2 separate regions of the Homo sapiens genome follow, and region 2 is linked to region 1. The links are contacts of gene promoters, found by promoter capture Hi-C in blood cells and fetal thymus (Javierre and others, 2016). All regions are on one chromosome and are shown on one strand. The core of a region is centred on a gene start or on the middle of the fragment in contact, and the rest is flanking DNA. Distances in the headings are between cores, read along the strand shown. Region 1 holds the start of RAD21-AS1 (RAD21 antisense RNA 1). Region 2 overlaps LOC112268030 (a long non-coding RNA gene).

The links. The method cuts DNA at HindIII sites, captures the fragments that hold promoters and counts their contacts. A CHiCAGO score of 5 or more calls a contact.
Region 2: a contact is called between a fragment that was not itself captured here and the fragment with the promoter of RAD21-AS1 in region 1, in 3 of 17 cell types (naive CD4 T cells, total B cells and total CD8 T cells). The highest score is 6.4, in naive CD4 T cells.

The regions. Positions count from the first base shown.
Region 1 is chr8:116,871,973-116,877,017 of GRCh38, forward strand. RAD21-AS1 (RAD21 antisense RNA 1) reads left to right here and starts at 2,452. Exons shown (of 2, transcript NR_033886.1): 1 at 2,452-3,013; 2 at 3,449-4,896. It overlaps RAD21 (RAD21 cohesin complex component), which reads right to left and starts at 2,804. Exons shown (of 14, transcript NM_006265.3): 1 at 2,639-2,804. MIR3610 (microRNA 3610) reads right to left here and starts at 2,828; the gene lies at 2,756-2,828. RefSeq lists silencers at 2,112-2,161, 2,322-2,641 and an enhancer at 2,752-2,801. The HindIII fragment of the contact is 5,133 bases long and covers 451-5,045 here.
Region 2 is chr8:116,786,461-116,791,783 of GRCh38, forward strand. LOC112268030 (a long non-coding RNA gene) reads left to right here. Exons shown (of 3, transcript XR_002956724.2): 2 at 43-189. Among named protein-coding and RNA genes, the nearest start is that of UTP23, 23 kb to the left of the region's middle. The HindIII fragment of the contact is 316 bases long and covers 3,782-4,097 here.

The DNA.
Region 1 (5,045 bases), core at 1,202-3,701:
TAATAAACCCAAACAACGGAATATAGTCGGTCCTCCTTATCCATGGCTTCTTGCATCCATGGACTAAACCAACCCAGGATCAAAAATTGTTGGAGGGGGGGACAAAAAAACACAATAATAAAAAATACTACTAATAAAAAACTATAACAACTATATTAACTATTAACATAGCATTTACATTGTAATATCATAAATGGAGATGATTTGAAGTATATGGGATGTTAGTAGGTTATATGCAAATACTACACTATTTCATATAAGCGACTTGAGCATTCGTGGTTTTGGTTCTGGAACCAATTCCCCTTTAATATCAAGGGACAATTGTACAGTACAACTTTAAACAAGAATACAACATTTGTACTAACATGGAAAATCTCCAGGTTAAGTGCAAAAAAGTTGGAGTTTTAAAAAAGAATGCTCTTTCTCTATATATTTACGAGTTCTTGAATAAGCTTAAAATACCTGTGGCGTACACATGAAACTGGTGATACTGGTTACCTCTGGAAAGTAGGTATGCAGGGCAAGTGAGGCCTACCTTTTTGTACTGTTTGATATATATATATACATACACACACACACACACACACACACACATATTTTAACTCGGGACATAAATGTACACCACCTATTCAAAGTAAAAACTACTATCTCAGAAGTAAAGACATAATCCTGCTATTGTCATTAACTAGCAGTTAAGCTGCCTAACCTTTATGCAGTTCAGTTTCCCTACTATGAAAACCTGAAAGGTTGAAATCTGGTGGTTTACCTAACCTTTGAAAACGTCAATACCTAACTCAGATCAGAACGGAGCTACCTCTTCAGGGGAGTAGGGGGAAGGATCTCTGAAGATATTTCTAACCCTGCACACTAGAAATCTCCTCTGTTTTGGTTCTAACATCCTTTGACCAAGAGTTTTACAATCAGACAGTCGTAGGTTCAAATTAAGCTCCCTCTTTGCTCAGTTGTTTTGTAACGGTGAATAAGTTACTTCTCAACTATAAACTGGGATAATATTCATCAAAAAAGATTATGAAAATTAAATACAAGGGCACACCTAACATAGTGCCACTGCTGATGCGAAAAGTAACTCTGAAGACAATCTTGCAGCAAAACATTAACCAGCCAGTATAATCATGCCTAACAACTCTGGTTTGACATTTAAACTAAAAACACAACCTTATTTCTCAAGAATTAGAAAATTTCCATTCTGTACCAAACTGTAAAAGCGTTTCTTAGAATTTGTATGTTTCACAAAATAATTCACCAGAAATTCTTTTGTAATTCTGACTTGTGTATAAAAAAAAGCACTATGTCTATTAGTTATGCACTGCTGTCACCTCAACTATACAAACTGTTAACTTATTTGAAGATCAGATATGGCGTATGTCCTCATCAATGCCTTTCCAAAAATAATTAGTTGCCTCCGACATTAACAAAGGTATTTAATGACTTCACGATTTGAGAAACCTTCTCCTGCCTGTCTCCAAAATTCTATAGACTCGCACTGCCCGCTGGCATTTACACCCAATTTAAGAAAATAGAAATTTTTGCCTGAAAACCAATTACTCTTCTAACCAGTATAATGACAACAAAGATTAACTTTCCCTTGCAAAAAGAAGCCGATAAACACAAGCCTTTCCCAGAAACTCTTCGCACAAACGCTGTTTTTTTTTTCACGCTGAAGACACTAACAAATCAGAGTGACCAAGTAAATCCCCCAGGGTTTCCCTCTTACAAATTTGAAGAAGGCCGCTAAGTCTGGCAGCACAACCCGACAGTGTCACCCCACACTATCAAAGCGGATCATTCGCAAAAAGCCTTTTTCAGCGACGAAAAGGGCATCAAGCATTTATCAGAAACACACACCTCCCCCAGAGCGTCTCTACAACACCCGATATCCTTAATCACTTTAAAGAATGATCAGAAAAGTTCAGGGGAAAACCAATTATGCAAATATCCTTGGAAAAAGAAGCAACTTCCCTCCGTCTCTTTTTCCACGCGTCTGTGAAATATTCAGCATTCCCAACGTAAAAATTATCTTTTTAAAACGGGAGGGCAGCAGCAGTCACTGGCCGAGGGGCACCCGCCGACCCCCCGCCCCACCCCGCCCAGCCCCACCAGCTCCGCACTTTCTTGAGCCCCGCACCCGAGTTCGGCGGAAGGTTGCTGCTCCCGGGGCTGGCACCGCGGGCGCCGGGCCCGCCACCGCCTCCTCCCAGACAGCCATTTTTACCCGCGGAGTAGGCGGCCCGGTCCCCAGAGCGGGCTCGTTCAAACCTCCTCCCCTCCCTCCGCAGCCCAGGGTTTCCCCGGCCTCCTGGGGGACGTGAGATGGACCTGCAGGGTAACAGCCTTTGTAGATCTCAGAATGGATCAGAATCATTTGTTACCGAACAAGCGATGATGCGGGCCCAAGCTGCATGGGTCCGGGCCGAGGGCGGGCCCGGGGCGAAGGGGGCTGGGCGGGTGGCGCCGCCGCTTGGGCGCCGGGAGGGTGGCAGCACGCGTGGGCGCGGCGAGGGCTGCCTTCTCCCTCGCCCTCCCGCCCCCAGGAGTCCGGCTCCCCGACGGCAGAGCGGCGGGGAAAGGGTGGGGGGAGGGAGCTGGAGGAAAAGAAGGGGTCGGCCGAGTCTCTTACCTTGCTCTCCGCTGGGAGTTGGGCGGGCTGGGTGGCCCGGGGAGGGGAAAAGGGTCGGGGGAGGGGGTGGGGAAAGGGGGGAGCCCTTGCGAGGTGTAGCTTCCGAGCAGCTCCCGCCGCCGCCACAGCCGGCGCCTCCTTTCCGATTCACTCAAACAAACAAGATGGCTGCCGTTACGCCGCGGCTCTTCCTGCCGCCCAAATCCTCGGTTCAAATCGGCAGGATGTTTACGGTCAAAATGGTACCTGTGCGCCTGCGCAGCCAGCCCAAGCCCCCCCCTCCCCCCAGAAGGAGCGGCGCAGGCGCAATGACTATTTCCTTTTCTTTGGAACCCGCCCTCTGTTTGTGGAGTCCACAACTGAGCAAGCGCAAAGGTGATTCTCTTGCGAGGGTCTTTGAGAGTTGCGGTGTTAGCCAATAGCGTAAGATAGCGCACGCGCAGTGCTTTCCAGTGCGGTGAATATTTGCGTTTAGCTTTATTCTTGTGCTTGTTTTAAAGAAAAAAGCTGTCGTGGTGCAATTTTGTGTGCCCCCACCAAAAAATTCATTTTATGGCTCTATAGGGATGAAAGTAACATAAAAACCTCAAACTAATTCCATAAAATATAGAGGTTCATTTATTCAGTCAACCTATATTATAGAGGGTCTTCTGTTTGCTACACGTTGGGCTCTGGATATAATGATTAATATAACAGAGATAATAACTGCCTTTTGGAAATTTTCAGTATTGCTTGGGAGGAATCTTAAAATTTCTTATCTTAAAAGACTTACTTGTACCACGAAGAAATTTACTTTTGTTTTTATTGTAGAGATCTTTCCAGTGATGAAAGAAATTGAAGAGGACACACAAAAATGGAAATATATTCCATGTTCATGGATTGGAAGAATCAATATTGTTAAAATTTCCATACTACCCAGAGCAATCTACAGATTCAATGTAATCCCTATCAAAATATCAATGACATTCTTCACAGAAAGAGGAAAAAAATCCTAAAATTTATATGGAACCACAATAAGACCAAGAATAGCCAAAGCAATCCTGAGCAAAAGAATAAAGCTGGAGGCATCACATTACCTGACTTCAAATTATACTACAAAGTGATAGTAAACAAAACAGCATGGTGCTGGCATAAAAACAGACACATAGACTAACGGAACAGAATAGAGGACCTATAAATAAATCAATACATATACAGTCAACTAATTTCTGACAAAGCTGCCAAGAACATACGTTGGGAAAAGGATGGTCTCTTCCAAAAATTGTTCTGGAAAAACTAGATAACTATATGTAGAAGAATGAAACAGATCACTATCTTTTGCCATATTAAAAAAATCAAAACAAAATGGCTTGAAGACTGGAATCTAAGATTTGAAACTATTGAAACTACTAGAAGAAAACGTTAGGGAAATGCTCCAGAACCAAATATTTCTTAGTAAGACCTTAAAAGCATAGGCAAGCAAAGCAAAAATGGACAAATGGGATCATGCCAAGCTAAGAACCTTCTGCAAAGCAAACAACAAAGTGAAGAGACAACCCATCAAGTGGGGGAAAATACTTGCAAACTACTCATCTATCACAGAATTAATAGCCATAATATATAAGGAGCTCAAACAATATAATAGGAAAATAATCCAATTAAAATTGAGCAAAAGACCTGAATGGTTATTTCTCAAAAAAGACATACAAATGGCCAACAGGGATATGAAAAAATGCTTAACATCACTAATCATCAGAGAAATGCATATCAAAACTAGGATGAGGTATAATCTCATCCCAGTTGAAATGGCTTTTATCCAAAATACAGGCAATAATGAATGCTGATAAAGATGTGGAGAAAGAGAAACACTCGTACACTGTTGGTAGGAATGTATGTTAGTACAGCACTGTGAAGAACAGTATAGAGATTCCTTAAAAACCTAAATATAGAGCCACCATATGAGCCAGCAATCCCACTCCTGAGTAAATACCCCCCCCCAAAAAAAAAGGAAATCAGTACATCAGAGTGGTATCTGCCCTCTCACATTTATTGCAGCAAGATTCACAATTGTCAAGATATGGTATCAACGTAAGTGTCCATCAGTGGATAGATGGGTAAAGAAAATGTGGTACACATACACAAGATAATATTTTTCAGCCATAAAAAAGAAAAAAAGTCCTTTCATTTGCTGCAACATGGATAGAACTGGAAGACATTAAGTGAAATAAACCAGGCACAGAAAGACATTAGTGTGAATGTTCACACTAATATGTGGGAGCTTAAAAAAAAAAAAAAGAACTCATTGAGATAGAAGGTAGAATGATGGTTACCAGAGCCTGGGAAAGGTAGTGGGGAGGGGGCAGATGAGTACAAAATCTGCCCCCTCAGATTTGGTACAAAAATACAATTAGAAAGAAGGAATAAAGTC
Region 2 (5,323 bases), core at 2,690-5,189, 84 kb before region 1:
CAGAAAAGAGTTCATTTCTCATTTCTCTCTTTCTTCTCTCAGTATATCCCAAGAATGTACACATTCTGCACCAATTATGGAGGACAACAGTATGTGATTGATGCTCTGATTGGCTAGCTCTGGACCACATGACCAACTCTGCTCTGGTGGTAGAGCTAATTCCACTTAAACCACATCAACAGAGAATGGGTAAGATGTGTTTCCTCAAGGGAGACTGTAACACTATTAGAAGGAGGAGTGAAAGTTGGCGTGTAAGAAGCAAATGATCACTACTGATATGTGGGCATTTGAGGTGAATTAAATTTTTACTTGAATTATTTTATGTTTTCATACTCATCAGAGTTTGTATAAACTATGGTAAAACTTACTGTCAGCTCTCAGCATGCTTAACTGGTCTTTTACTGTCATCATCATATGAAGACAATATCTGTTATGGTCTGAATGTTTGTGTCCCCTTCAAATTCACATGTTGAAACCTAACCATCATTGTGCTGGTATTAGGAGGTGAGACCAGTGGGAAGTGATTAGGTCACGAGGGCAGAACCCTCATGAATGGGACTAGTACCCTTGTAAAAAAGGCCCCAGAGAGCTGCCTTGCCCCTTCTAGCATGCAAGGACACAGTGAGAAGACGCCATCTATAAACTAGGAAGCAAGCCCTCACCAGACACCAAATCTGCGGGCATCTTGATCTTGCACTTTGCAGCCTCCAGAACTGTGAGAAATAAATTTCTGTTGTTTGGAAGCCACCCAGTTTATGATATTTTTAAATGGCAAGCCAAATGGACTCAGACAATACCCAACATCCAAATAAAGAACTTTATAATTTATCTTCATTTGCTGCTGCTCATCCCTCTTATTTCTTTCATCTGACTTTGGTCTCCAGGTAAAATGAACAGAAAATGGGCATAAATTGAGGTATCCTATGACAAATGCATTTGCTTTTTCTATAGAATTACATCCTAAAAAATTTGAAAATTCACTTTCTCCTACGACTACCTTTTTTTTTTTTTTTTTTTTTTGAGGTGGAGTCTCGCTCTGTCACCCAGGCTAGAGTGCAGTGGCGCGATCTCGGCTCACTGCAAGCTCCGCCTCCCGGGTTCATGCCATTCTCCTGCCTCAGCCTCCCGAGTAGCTGGTACTACAGGCGCCTGCCACCACGCCTGGCTAATTTTTTTGTATTTTCAGTAGAGATGGAGTTTCACTGTGTTAGCCAGGACGGTCTCGATCTCCTGACCTCGTGATCCTCCTGTCTCGGCCTCCCAAAGTGCTGGGATTACAGGTGTGAGCCACCGTGCCCGGCCTCTTAAGACTACCTTAGAAAGTAGATTGCAAAAAAACTTTAAACATGTATGTATTTAAAAATTTAATAACAAAACCCCCCAAATTCTGTCATGATCTTGATCATTAGAAAGATTTATGTAATTGGAGAATTTCAGAAATATCTTGGCGGCAGAACTAGATGCCTTTTGAGGTTCAATTTAATTCTAACATCCCGTTAAAATTTAATGTACAATATGTAGAGAAGGACAGCAACTACACACTGTACACCCTAAGACTGATTTTTAAAAAAGCAACATCAACTTCAACATCCAAGTATCCTATACTTTACACAGTGCCTGGTATGTAATAGTTGCTTAATGTTTGCTGAATGACAGTGTGATCAAAGGAGTGTTGTTACATCTGTCACTCTGAGGTCCTTCTGGTGATGTTGCCATATCTTATAACATCAACAAATGTTTTCTTAAAAATGAAATTTTCAGGTGCATTGGCTCACACCTGTAATCCCAACATTTTGGGAGGCTGAAGTGGGAGAATTGCTTGAGGCCAAGAGTTCGACACCAGCCTGGGCAACACAGTGAGACACCATCTCTACCAAAAAAATTAAAAAATTAGCTAGTCATGGTGGTGTGTGCCTTTAGTCCTAGCTATTCCCAGGAGTTTGAGGTTGCAGGGAGTATGATTGTGCCACTGCACTCCAGCCTGGGTGGCAGAGCAAGACTCGGTCTCTATTTTTAAAAAAAGAAAGAAAGAAAAATTTGCCTTCACTGCCAGTTCTACATTGTGGAGGATACTTTGTTTTGGCCCCTAGAGGGAGCGCTAGCCTCCTCTATAAATCTCATCCTCAGCACTCTCCTCCAGGGTTTTCTTACGCTACATTAAAAGAGAATTGAGAAGAAACTGTTAAGGTCAAAAACGTTTCATGGGCATGTTTGTAGGAGCGTGGATCAATCCAGTGAGTGTGGATCACTGAAATCAATATGTTGAATGGATATCTGTGCTCTCACGTTCATTACAACATTCTTCAGAATCCCAAATATACAATCAACCTGTGTTCATCAACAGAGATGGATGAAGAAAATGTGGTATATATGAACAATAGAATACTATTCCACCTAAACAGGGAGAAATTCTGTCATTTGTGATAACGTGGATAAATCTGGAGGACATTATGCTAAGCGAAATAAGCCAGGTACAGAAAGACAAATACCTCTGACCTCACTTATATGTGGAATCTAAAAAAGTCAAACTCACAAAAGTAGAAACTAGAATGCTGATTACCAGAGGCTAGGGAGGTGGAGAAGGAGGAAATTGGGAGATGTTGATCACAAAATACAAAGTTTGAACAAAAAAAAAAAAAAAGAAAAAATACAAAATTTCGACAGACAGGAGGAATAGGTTTTGAGATCTATTGCACTATTGATTATAGTCAATAATAATGTATTCTATATTTCAAAATAACTGAGTAAATTTCAAATGTATCACCATAAAAATGATAGGTAAGTGAGGTGATGGATATGTTATTTGGCATGATTTATCATTCCACAAAATGTACATATATTGAAACATCGCATTGTATCCCATAACTGTATGTAATTATGATATGTCAATGAAAAATAATATTACTAATAAAAATTTTAATTTTCAGTTGAAAATTAATTAATTAAAAAATAGCACAATGATCAAAATATATTGGTTCTTATTTTCTCTGTATCACAGATGAGAAAACTAAGGCTCAGACAGCTCAAATGTTTGCCCACATTTAAACCAATAACAAGTGACAGAGCTGGGGCTTGAACTGAAATCTTTAAATCTAAGTAATTTGGGGGGTCTGGGTAAGGGACAGGGATGGAATCGCTATGACAGGATGAGACTAAAATATTTAGATGTCATCTACAGTGAGATTTGTACCTTCACTCTGGCGATTCACCATCCTTTGAGAAGGAATTTGACTTTTGGAAACAGCCTAAATAAATTTATAATCAATTCTGGAGAATAAAGTGTTTTGGGGAAAAATGAAACAGCAAGTCAAAATAATATTTCTTGTTCTCTTGTGTGCTTTTGAAACTTGTTCTGAAGATAATTTCAAATTTGGAAGGAATTTTATGCAGTGTCAGCATTATTGAAAAATGCACTCTTTCCCGAGGTACTACTTTGAAAGATAACATTTGCTTGGTGTTTGCTCATATATGTGTGTCTGTATTCATTTCCTGAACACCTACATGTGCTGGGATTCAGTGATGAATAAGATACAGTCTTCCCTCATGAAGTTTGTGATCCACTTGGGGAGGCAGGTAGGTAAATAGTGACTTTTATTATGTAGAGATTAGTGGTATAATAAAACTCCTTCCAGCCGTAAAATCACTGGATTGTATAATATGTAACATCAGTCTAAATTCTTTTTTTTTTGACACCAGGCAAGATAAACTATAGATGGGTAAATAAATACATTTATTTACATATAGTTTTCAAAGAGTCATTCTGCCTGAGAGCTTTGGGAAAAGCTTGACAGGGAGGTGACATTTGATCTAGGGCTCAAGGTAATTTTATAAAAATGTGCACCAGAGACAAAGAGGTATTCAATAAATATTTCTTAAATGAACCAACGACATAAGGAAGCACCAGTTTTTCTTGAGATCTGTATATATAGTGTTGTGCCTGTCTAAAAGCTGACCGTCCTATTTAAATTATGTCCATTCTGGTAGAAAAAGCCCTTTTGAAGTCGTCTTATATAGTTGGCAGAGTTGGCTAACTGAATGAATAAAAAATGTAACATAACCAAATATAGGCCAAATAAATTTATGTTGCTCAACACTAAAGCTTTGACAGGTACAATCAATGTGCAGCAGCCTGATTTCTTGTCTCAGCTGTTTCATTAAACCAGCCCTGAGATCTTCCTAGCATTAGGCCACAGCTTTCAGGGTCTTTATTCTTTCCTAGGTTGCATATTCTGTATTTGCTCAAGATTAACTGTCTTTCAGTGTTATGTTTCTGAATATATTTAGGCACTCCCTTGTGAAGTCACAAGGATGGGAACAAAGCAAGAGCTGGACCCCACTTTTCCTCGTTTTTTTTTTTTTTTTTTTTTTGACAGGCTCTTGCTATGTCACCCATACTGGAGTCCAATGGTGCAGTCATGGCTCACTGCAACCTTGAGCTCCTGGTCTCAAAGTGATCCTCCTATCTCAGTCTCCCCAGTAGCTGGGACTACAGGCACACACTGCCATGCTTGGCTTTTTTTTTTTTTTTTTTCAGAGATGGTATCTCGCTGTGTCACTTGGGCTGGTCTCCAACTCCAGGGCTTAAGTGATCCTCTTGCCTTGGCCTCCCAAAGTGCTGGGATTACAGGTGGGAGCCACCAAACTGAACCTACTTTTCCTCCTTCCCACCAGTGATGTGCGGGCATCACTACAGTAGGCAGAACTGCTCTGCTGTGGCCAGCTCTGCAGTTCCAGGGGGGCCAGTGTTTCTCCAGAGTGGTGCATGGACCCCTGCCTCAGCGTTACTTGGACCATTGCTTGCTTAACATGCAGATTCCTGGGCCCCACTTAAACCAATAAAATAGAAACCTTTGTAGATGAGACCTATAATGTATCTTTATTTTTCATAGGTTTTTGGGGAACAGGTGGTATTTCGTTACATGAGTATGTTCTTTAGTGGTGATTTGTGAGATTTTGGTGTACCCATCACCTAAGCAGTGTACACACAACCCAATTTGAAGCCTTTTATCCCTCACCCCCTTCCCACCCTTTCCCCCAGAGTCCCCAAAGTCCGTCGTATCATTCTTATGCCTTTGCATCCTCATAGCTTAGCTCCCACTTATGAATGAGAACATATGAGGTTTGGTTTTCCATTCCTGAGTTACTTCACTTAGAATAATAGTCTCCAATCCCATCCAGGTTTCTGGGAATGCCATTAATTCATTCCTTTTTATGGCTGAGTAATATTCCATCACATACACACTACAGTTTCTTTATCCACTTGTTGGTTGATGGGCATTTTGGGCTTGTTCTATATTTTTGCAATTGCGATTGTGCTGCTATA